Linked DNA regions of Homo sapiens: region 2 is linked to region 1. Evidence: promoter capture Hi-C in 16 types of primary human blood cells and fetal thymus (Javierre and others, 2016). All regions are on one chromosome and are shown on one strand. Each heading gives the region's core, a stretch centred on a gene start or on the middle of the fragment in contact. The rest is flanking DNA. Distances are from core to core; before and after follow the strand shown. Region 1 holds the start of TMEM218 (transmembrane protein 218). Region 2 overlaps ZNF202 (zinc finger protein 202).

The links. Contacts are between HindIII fragments. The CHiCAGO score rates a contact against its expected background, and 5 or more counts as called.
Region 2: a fragment that was not itself captured here is called in contact with the fragment with the promoter of TMEM218 in region 1 in 1 of 17 cell types (total B cells); the score reaches 5.1 in total B cells.

Annotation. Positions count from the first base shown.
Region 1 is chr11:125,109,488-125,114,586 of GRCh38, forward strand. It overlaps TMEM218 (transmembrane protein 218), which reads right to left and starts at 2,139. Exons shown (of 5, transcript NM_001258244.2): 1 at 2,052-2,139. It also overlaps the pseudogene KRT18P59. RefSeq lists enhancers at 1,834-1,923, 2,279-3,191, 2,554-2,733 and a silencer at 2,394-2,463. The HindIII fragment of the contact is 1,270 bases long and covers 1,696-2,965 here.
Region 2 is chr11:123,732,020-123,737,118 of GRCh38, forward strand. The region is part of intron 3 of ZNF202 (zinc finger protein 202); the gene reads right to left. Among named protein-coding and RNA genes, the nearest start is that of ZNF202, 7.1 kb to the right of the region's middle. The HindIII fragment of the contact is 2,341 bases long and covers 761-3,101 here.

The sequences.
Region 1 (5,099 bases), core at 889-3,388:
ATGTTAATATTTATTAATCTGATTGGTGGAACATAGATATTATACTACCCAATGTACTATTTTCTGTTTTTAAATTTTTCGTGATAATTTTTAATTTTTAAAAAGGTAATGGGCAGCAGGATGCATATGAATTGGGTGACCAGTTAGGAAACTATTGCAATTCTCCAGATAAGAGATGATGAGGGTCTGACCTCCAGTCTTAGCTGTGTCAAGGGAGAAGGTGTTAGAAATGACACAAGTTTCTAGCTTAGTTGACTGAGCTGATGGTACTGCTCTTAAGAAAACAACTATTTAAATTTAATTTGTGCTATTCTGGATATTACACAAATAACCCAGAAGACTTGGACCAACTCTAACAGTTAGAATAGAGGGCAAATGGTAGTTGAAGCTGGCTGGCGCCATTAGAAATGTTGCCCTTCAATCCCCCTTAGTAGCTTAAGAGTTCGTGAGACATTGGATTTATATATGGTATGGCTTTAAAGTAATAAGATAAATATTCCCAAGCTCTTTTAAGAATGGAGCTCATAATTTTATAAGCAAACTATACATTTTCTTACTAAGCATAGAAAAGAAGGGCTGGGTATAGTATAGAGTGCTGCTATAGAGGAAGAGAGAACATCTAGTCATTTTTATCTTATTTAAATGTGAGAATAATATCTGTGATAATTTCCCATATTAGAATAGCTAAATTATTGTTATTGAGTACAATACAATAAAATATAAAAACGGGTTCATGCCATCATTAAACCTTCTTTGAGAAGTGATGGCTTGGCCAACCCGATTTCAAGGGTAAGTCCATTTACTTAATATCTGTGGCATTTAAAGCAGGTAGACTGGAGTGAAAAAAAATAATTTAAATTTGAACAGTTCAGCAGCTGACAACAAAAGCAACTACAGGGCTAATGTTTTCCTTCTGTGCTCAATGCTGTGAGGTTTTTCTCTGAGAGAGTTTGTTCAAAACCTTTTAGATGTGTGTGTTCATTTAATGGTTGTTTCTACATACCCTTTCATCCAGCTGTCAGAGAAAATAGGAATAAATGGACTGATCCCTGCACAGGTAACCTAATGGATTAAAAATACGGTACTCATCACCAGGTTGATCATCATGAGCGAGAATACTAACTGCCATTATAAGATGACTTATAAGATGACTTACTATCTAAGACAAATGTGGATTCCTCAGAGGGTAATGTGGCCTAAGTGCTGCTGCTGGAGGGAGATATCTCACCCATCCCCCGATTTTCACACTGACTCAAGCCCTTGAAAGCAACAGAAAACAGTGGGTTACAAGGAGTGAAGTGCTCCTCTGGAAGAGTCCTTTTCACTTTGCTTTATAGCTGTTTTCCAAACCTTCAAAAATAACGGGGGGGGGGGGTTACTTTCACACTTTTATGTTTCTACTTTAAACACTTCACTATCTTTTGAATTTTAAAATATTAGAATAACGCCTCTACCTTTGTAATTAGATAAAATGCAAGCCTGGGGAAAAAATCAGTTGCCAAGCTCCCAAAATGCCACCGATGTAGCATCTGCTCTTAACACGTTGATAGAAAAAGGAGGATCAGTAAACCTAGGTCTCTTCCTTGCATCCCTCTCCTGGACGGTGTTGTGGGTTGGAAGCGCTGCAGAGCCTCGGTCTATCCGCTCTCTGGATCTCACAGCACTGCAGCCTGGGAACACCCCACTTGAACTCTAAGCTTCTCCCCAACCCTGTTGCAGATTCAAACTGGCGACAGGAAAACAATGCCCCCCATGTCTCGTCTTCAGAATGTGCACCTGGCCACCTCCCAGGAGCTAGAGAGGGATTAAGGTCTCGGTCATAAGAGATCTGAATCAGGCACTGACACTTCCTTTTCTTAAGAGCATGAAACAAAACAGTCCTTCCTTCTCTGCCTCCAATTAAGTATTTATTAGCCGGGCCTTGGGTCCAGATCAGCGGTAAGGGTGGTCTGCGAGGTCCGTGCACCGCCGTCCGCCCACGCCTTCTTCCAACCACCTCAGCCCGACCCTCCACTTTTCTCCCTTCCCCGCAGCCGCCCCGCTTTCCTCACCTCTGCCCCCTTCACCTGGATCCACTCTCCCCCAGGCTCTACTCACACCTCAGATTCCGGCGCGTTCCAGCCCACGGGGCTCTGGTTTACTTAGGGCGAATCACAAGTGGGCTTTCATTTAGGTGATTTAAGATTCACTAATCAGCGTTGCTCTTTCAACGGCCAACTTCTTCCTCATTAGCTTACGCCTAGCGCGGCTCCCGGCAACGCCGAGCGCGGTGGGTTGGCTCGTCACCCTTCGTTACGCCCTCCGATTGGTCGGTGCCTGTCAGCCTTTGGACCGACCTCAGTTCGGTTGGGTAGCAGCGGTCCGAGCTGCACTCCCCGCCCCCCCGCCACTCCACTGTCAATCACACCATCTCTCCGTAACTCATTGGGCCATTGGTCAGTCTAGCCTGAGGGCGGGTTGTTGGGCGGAAGAGAGAGACTTCTTCCGGCCTCACTCGCTGTCACCATAGAGATTGCCCATCCAGGCAGCGAAGCAGCAGGGCCAGGCAGCTCAGATCTCGAACTCCAGAGAACTGCACAGTCATCTAGACATCAATGCCTTTTCCGGGGCCTGATGAACATCTCAATCCCCAACCCACTAGCTCGAGTGGGGCGCAAGATGTGGTGGACAAGTCAGCTCAGGCCCGGTCATTAAGTGTCCCCAACAACCCTCCTGGAGGGAACTGAGGACGAAGCACCAGTTGTAATAACGGCACGCTTCATTTATCTTTATCTCGACTTGTTTTATTTGGTATTTAATTCTTCCATTAGCCTTGCGAAACAGACAAAGGCAAAGATCATTCTACCCACGGGACAGACTGGGGAAGAGGCCCAGGGTCCATCAAGTAAACCCTCTGCCGCCAGGCTGCTGGAACTGGAGCTGGCCCACGCTATTGGCAGACTGCTGTTACCTAACTGCCAACTAAAGCTTGCCATGACTTTGCTTTGAGGCTATGGCCTGTTAGACCAAAAGATGCATCAATCAGGACAACCAAAGGAAGTAGGACAGAGGCTGCGTGCTCCACCACTGAATCAAGAAGGGGAAACAAACAATAATCAATACCAAATTGGAGAGCTGCACCGTTTGAACCTTTGACCTTAAACAAAATTTTAAGAAATATCATGAAGCAACCTATTCAATCTTAGAGCACTGAATCTCTGATTTAAGGAATTCTCCTGAATCACAGCTTTATGAACCAAAAAGAAGAAGATGCTTGAATTTCATCAACTGCACGTCTCAAATTTATTCAACTTTCGAGGCTTCATTTACAATCACATAAAGTAACCAATGATTTGTTGTGCGTTTAGCAACTTAACATTACTTGGCCCAGTGAGAAGCTCTGTGGCTAAGAAATCCTTTATTTTGATGAATTCATTTCACTGGAACTGAGTGTTGACTGCAGCTATGTTCTGTTAGGAACTGCGAAGATATACAAGAAATGAGATGTGACTCCCATCTTAATAGCCCGTGGTTTTGTAATGTTAGGTCAACAACACATGAAACAAGTAGGAAACACTTTAAAGCAAGATATAACAATGGGCCAACCCTATTGTACAATTAATTTCTCCAAAATATAATAATACTTCATATTTGCAGAACATTTCGTAGTTTCCAGAGCACTTCTTCCCTTGTATTATTTGGGGGATATTTTGTTATGGCTGGAATTAATGTGTGTGTCTTTATCATAGAGCTAGAACTAATGCTGGGTCCTAGCATATGAGTAGGAACAGGAAAGGTGGAACAGAATCCAGGAGGAGAAAGTAGTTTGAGCAAAGAGGCCAAGGCAAGAATGAGCACTGAGTATCTGGAGAATAATATGGAGACAAATGATGGAAAGTAATGTGTAGACAAGCTGGTCAGAACTGGCTCTGAGACCTTAATATTTTGGAGGAAAGTGGTCAAAAGTTCAAAGTTTGAGATTGGAAAAGTTAACTTCCTTACACTTCTAATGATCATACTGGCTTCAGTTAAGCTATAAATTAAAAATGGGCATGGCTCAACAGAACTTGAGTCCTGTCCTCTCGCTTTTCTCCTTAGGCAGCATGAGCTTCACCATTTGCTTTACCACCTCCACCAACTACCAGTCCCTGCATTCCATCCAGCCACACAGCCACAGCGTCCAGTTCATCAGCAGCACAGCCAAAGTCTATGCAGTCCTCAGGGGCTTGGGCTCCCGGACCTCAGTGTCCTTCTCCACCAGCTTCTGGAGTGGCTGGGGGTCTGGAGGCCTGGCTGCAGGGATGCCAGGGGTCTGGAAGGAATGGGGTACATCCAGAATGAGAAGGATACCATGCAAGGCCTGAATGATTGCCTGGATTTCCTACCTGGACAGAGTGAGGACTCTGGTGACCAAGAGTCAGAGGCTGGTGAGCAAAATCTGAGAGCACTTGGAGAAGAAGAGACCCCAGGTCAGAGCCTGGGGGCATTACTTCATGACCATCAAGGACTTGAGGGCTCATATCTTTGCAAATTCTGTGGACAATGCTTGTGTTGTTCTACAGATTGACAATGCCCGTCTTGCTGCTGATGACTTTAGAGTCAAGTATAAGACGGAGCTGGTCATGTGCCTGTCTGTGGAGAGCAACGTCCGTGGGCTCCACAAGGTCACTGATGACACCAATGTCACTCGGCTACAGCTGGAGACAGAGATGGAGGCTCTCAAGGAGGAGCTGCTCTTCATGAAGAAGAACCAAGAGAAGGAAGTAAAAGGTCTACAAGCCCTGATTGCCAGCTCTGAGTTGACCATGGAGGTAAATGCCCCCAAATCTCAGGACCTCAGCAACATCATGGCAGACCTCCCGGCCCAGTATGATGAGCTGGCCCAGAAGAACTGAGAAGAGCTGGACAAGTACTGGTCCCAGAAGACTGAGGAACACACCACAGTGGTCACCACGCAGTCCACCAAAATAGGAGCTGCTGAGACAACATTCATGGAGCTGAGATGTATAGTTCAGTCCTAAGAGATCAACCTAGACTCAATGAGAAATCTGAAGGCCAGCCTGGAGAACAGCCTGAGGTGGGTGGAGGCCCGCTATGCCATGCAAATGGAGCAGCTCAGT
Region 2 (5,099 bases), core at 681-3,180, 1.4 Mb before region 1:
CCATGTCTTTTTGAAGGTTGTTCCTTCTGCACAGGCTACTCTCCACCCTTCTCCTTTCCACGCTACATGGTGTGTTCTCTTTCTTTTTAACGGGTCTTGTCTTTATTCCCACAATTTACAGCTTAGGTCCCTCTCACTTCTCATCTGGATGACTGCAACTGCCTCCAAATGTGAGCTATCTGCCTCCAGATTTGTCACCTTCACGTACCCACTATGATCAGAACGAGCTCTCTTGGCAAACGTGCTCATGTCCCTTTCCTATCTAAGATCCTTCCATCACTCCCCGCTGTCTTGTTAAGTGAAATACAAACTTCAAACATTCTACATTAGGTTGACGTTCATCTTGTTATTCTCTTCGCCCTCCTCTCCAATCCTTTCAGACACACACGCACACACGTGTGTACATGCAAAGCACACAAGAGTCCCGTGTTCTTTAGCTTTTGAATATGCTGTTTCTTCTGATTCTTTATCCTTGGTTAGGTTAAACTTTAAATTTTTCAAGACATAAGCTCAAGCTTCATGTCTTCTGAGATGTTTTCTTTGATCCCATTTCCCCTACTCTCAGACATAGTTAGAAATCACCTAAGTCCTCCCGTAGTGACCTGGGCACCTCTCTATCCCAGTATTGGTCATATTACATAGCCATCGCTCATCTTTCCTGTGAAACTCTTTGAGGTCAGAGACTATTTTCCATCAATCTCCAATACCTATAATAAAGTGCACAATAAATGCATTTAAAATGAATAAAACTCTACTCCAAAGCTTCTTCCTATGGTAACAGGAAGAACCATTGTTTCCTCCATTATGCTTTTACTATCTCTTGATTATTCACCATATCCTGTTAATTCCAACTTCCAAAAAATGTCTTTCGAATCCATCCATCTCTTCATCTCTACTGCCATTTCCCGGTTGAGCCATTATGACCCACTAGAAGGTATTCATAGGAACTTTAAAAAAAATTACAATATCCTCTGCTCCTAAACGGCACTGGCACGTAACAGGCACGGATACATTGGAGAGATGACTTAGTTCAACCTCCATGACTGGTTTTCTTGGTCCTGTCCCCCTCCAGACCAGTGTCCACAAGCAGCTTAAGGGCTCCATCATTTCTCAACCTTTTTGTGCTATACTACAGTTGCCTCACATCCACATTCAAGGTTATCGATCCACTCTTAATAGCTGTGTCTCATCTATTGTTGCCCATCAAATGAGTTTACAGTCAATGATCACATTATCTTCATTCTTTCTCAAAACGCTTCTAATTCATGCTCTTATGACATTTTTTTCATTACCCTCAGTCACTTGCAACATACTTTCACAGTCTATCTTGGATAGCTCCCTAATTCCTAGATCTTCATGTGTAATTTTTCCTCTGCTATCTCTACCTCATGGTGATTTATTTTTTTCTCAAGTGGCTTGTAATTTTTTTATTTTATGTCCATCTTTTTACTTTGGGAGTCCTGAGAGCCCTGGATTTAAATGTGAGCCCCTTGAATGTAATTTCATTTGTTTCTTCCTAAGTGCTAATGGTTTCAATGATCTTGGACAGTTTGCTTTTTTAAGACTCTCCCTCTGTTGCCCAGGCTGGAGTGCAGTAGTACAATCATAGCTCACTACAGCCTGGATCTCCTGGCCTCAAGTGATTTTCCAACCTTGGCCTCCCAAAGCACTGTTACCAGAGGCTGAGCCACCATGCCTGGCCAAATCAGTTTTTATGTTAATTTCTCAGGGTGTTCCTGAATAATGCTTTTGTGTATTATTTAGATCGATGCCTTCAAGTAATGTTTGGCCTACCCAAGGTTCTGGAGAACCCACTTCCTTGCACTTTTCCTGGGTCAGTAGGACGATTTTCAAAGGTCCAGGTTTGCAGGCTGCTTAATTCTGTAACTTTCACACAGCGTCAGCTTCCCAAGTCCTATCTCCCTGTTGGAGTACCAGTATTAAAAGCTCAATCCCTAGAAACCTTATTTTGGTTTGGAATCTCACTGCGCCATGGTAAAGTCAGCTTATACTTATTTTTCTAGTGGTTATTTCTTTTTCCTTCTGGAACCTATGCGCTTTCCTTTAGCTTTTGAGAGAGAGAGACAGAGAGAGAGAGAGAGACAGACACACAGGGAGAGACAGACACACAGGGAGAGACAGCATGGGCTGTCCTGTTCCTGACAGGAACAGGATTTAATAATGGGCAGGAGGCCCATCCACATTAGCTCCACCTGCAATACTCCAAGTAGGTGAGTGGTGAACTTCCTAACATACAAAATCTGCCAATGGCTTCCCAGTGACCTTAGGTTAAAATTTAAACTTCTTAAAATGTGATACACAAAGACCTTCAAAAGCTGGTCCCTGCTACCTCTCCTTCCTTCCATGACTGCCACTCCCATTGAAAGCCACTGCAAGAATTACTGTTCTTTCTTTTCTATACCCTCCCTGGGCTTTCCTGATGCTGTTCACCTTGTCTGAAGTACCCTTCTCCACTCTTCATGTGGTTAACTCTATCCATCTTTCAGAGCTCAGTTTTTCCAAGATGCCTTCCCTGGTCCTCCCAGATGATGCTTCCACAGGAACTTGTATCTCCCCCTATCACAGCATGCACATGTGTCTATTTTTTGTGTCATCAAAACTGTTCATCTTCTGTTGAACTCACTGGACTGTAAAGCTCTGAGGGCAGGGATATGCTGTGCCCAGCTCGATGCCTGGCACACACCAGGCACTCACTTCACATTTGATGAATGCAGAGAATGCTTAGTAAGGTTTTAAAAGTCTGTTTCCAGAAGGATAGATACCATGTTATATTAACCCATATTCATCCATAAGTCTAGCAAACTGTGTGCTGGATAAAGGCATACATAGGGAAAAAAACATTTATTGTTTGGATTGTGAGTAAAACAGAATTCTCTTAGTGGTTCCCAAGATGATGGAACCACAACTCATCACAAGGAATCTTCAGGTTGCACCGGGAATAATCCAAATGCAAGTCACACAACACTTGGCATTTGAAAAAAAAAAAATCATTTTCCATTGAGGATTTAAATCAATTTTAATAAGCGCAAAATCAGACATCAAATAAATGGAACTACAATACTAATTATTTATCCAGACAAAGCTTTCCAAACCCCACCCCAACTCCTACCCCTGGAAGACAGAATTAATACATAGGGTCTTTTGGCTTAATAAAAGGACTTCTAGTATCTTAAAAGTTTGAGAACCGACGTCCAGTGAAGTAGACTTGGAATCCTCATTGTTTTCACGCAGCACTAGGTACAAGAGATTCCACAGTATGGATCCTACAACGTATGCATTGACAGAAGAGTTCCTGCTCTCTCAAAGGGCTTTGCTCTCCAAAGAAAAAAGAACATGTAACAGTGCCACACCAAACTTGCCATTTAAAAATGCCCTTCAGAAATCACAAGCTGAGATTTCTGGTGCTTGTTTTGCATTTACTTTGGCAGCCTAGGAAGATGAAGGAAAACAGATCAGCAATAGAAGGAATGAAGGAAGGAGTCTTTGTGGGGTAAGAGATGGGAAATGAATAGGAGGTACAGCAGTGCTGTGCACAGCACCAAACTGGGTATCCAAAGACATATGCCCCGGCCCCAGATCCCCAAGAAACTGGAGCTTCCCTGAGGGTTTCGTGAAGTAACGTACCCAAGAGCCCTTGTAAAGGATAAAGCCCTCTGCAGATAACCAGTCTCCTAACTCAGTGATTATCTGAGATATGAGAGCTTTATGAACTAAAATGTGTTGTGCAAATGTCAAGATTTAATATTAGAGGCAGAAAACAGATGTTGTGTTTTTATTCTATAATTAATGGGATGTGCTATGCCATAAGTATACCTTGCAATTTGTTGCCTTTGCTATTCTAATACCTTTCTTCAATGTCTGTCCTTGGAAGAGTTCCAGAGTAAGACAAAAACTATAGAGAGAATACAATAGAGAGAATATGAAACCAGGCCAGGATTAAGTAAGAGACTTGGTTCCAGAAGACACTAAAACAGTATCTGCAAAGATACAACCTAGTGTCTTGAGTGTTCCTAGGATGCATAGGATTGGAGAGGAGCTATCAAGGTAAGACCTCTGTACAATCCTCAGGCCAGCTGTCTCTGCCCCTTATCTGAAGGTGTCACGTGGCAGTGAAGACCCAAGCTCAATTCTCTTACAAGAACAGAAAACCACAGGCAATGAAACAATATCTAGTTCTCTACCTTAAAACGCTACTAGCTAGGGTGATCTTTCTGGACCCTAAATGACAAAGTCTGTAGTCATATACCATCAACCTAAAGGAGAGACAGTGATCTGCCTATGTACTGGCAAATAATCTTCAGAAGAAAATAGTGATTAGAACTGAAATTATTATATTTAGCAGATATTTATATCCCTTCCAGTCCCCATTCTTATTTTATACCTTAATGCAGGCCTATAGTTTGGTAATTTTAATACAACTACTTGCTGGGGCTAACCAGGGCCTGTCAACAGCTCCTCTCAGTGTTCTAGAATAGAAATTGGCTAATAAAAACTGTTAACCGCTCTTTTCCAATGCTGCTGCTGTTCTTTAAAACGAAAGATTAGCCCAGTACAATCCTTCTAATGGACATATTCTTTTATTCTTGATTGTCCTATATACAAGCGCTTACCTAAGCTTTCCACATAATGGTTAGTGGCCTTGGCACGCTGGGTTTGAATCCCTGACCTCGAATCCCTGACCTCGCTTATTAGCCTTGTAACACAATTTCCCTAAGCCTCAGTCTTATCCTCAAAAATGTGGCTAATACTACTTATCTCATGTGGTTGTTTTAAGGAGTAAATGAAATAACCTATAGAAACCCTTCAGTATAGAGTCTGGCATAGGGTAGGTGCTCAATATATTTTATTCATTTTCCTTCAAGCTATTTGAAATCGTTTTGGGAAGAAGGCAAGATTTAAATGATAAACAAGCAAACAGTTCTCTATTGCATCATAATTACAAAAAAACAGATGGCATAAGGAAAATCTTGGTCGGTCTATTGTTATATCAAAGAAACCATGCTAAACCAAAAAAAAAATCCTTGCTTTGGAGGCACTTATGAAGTAGGATTAAATGAAAGTGTTGGAATACAGATGAG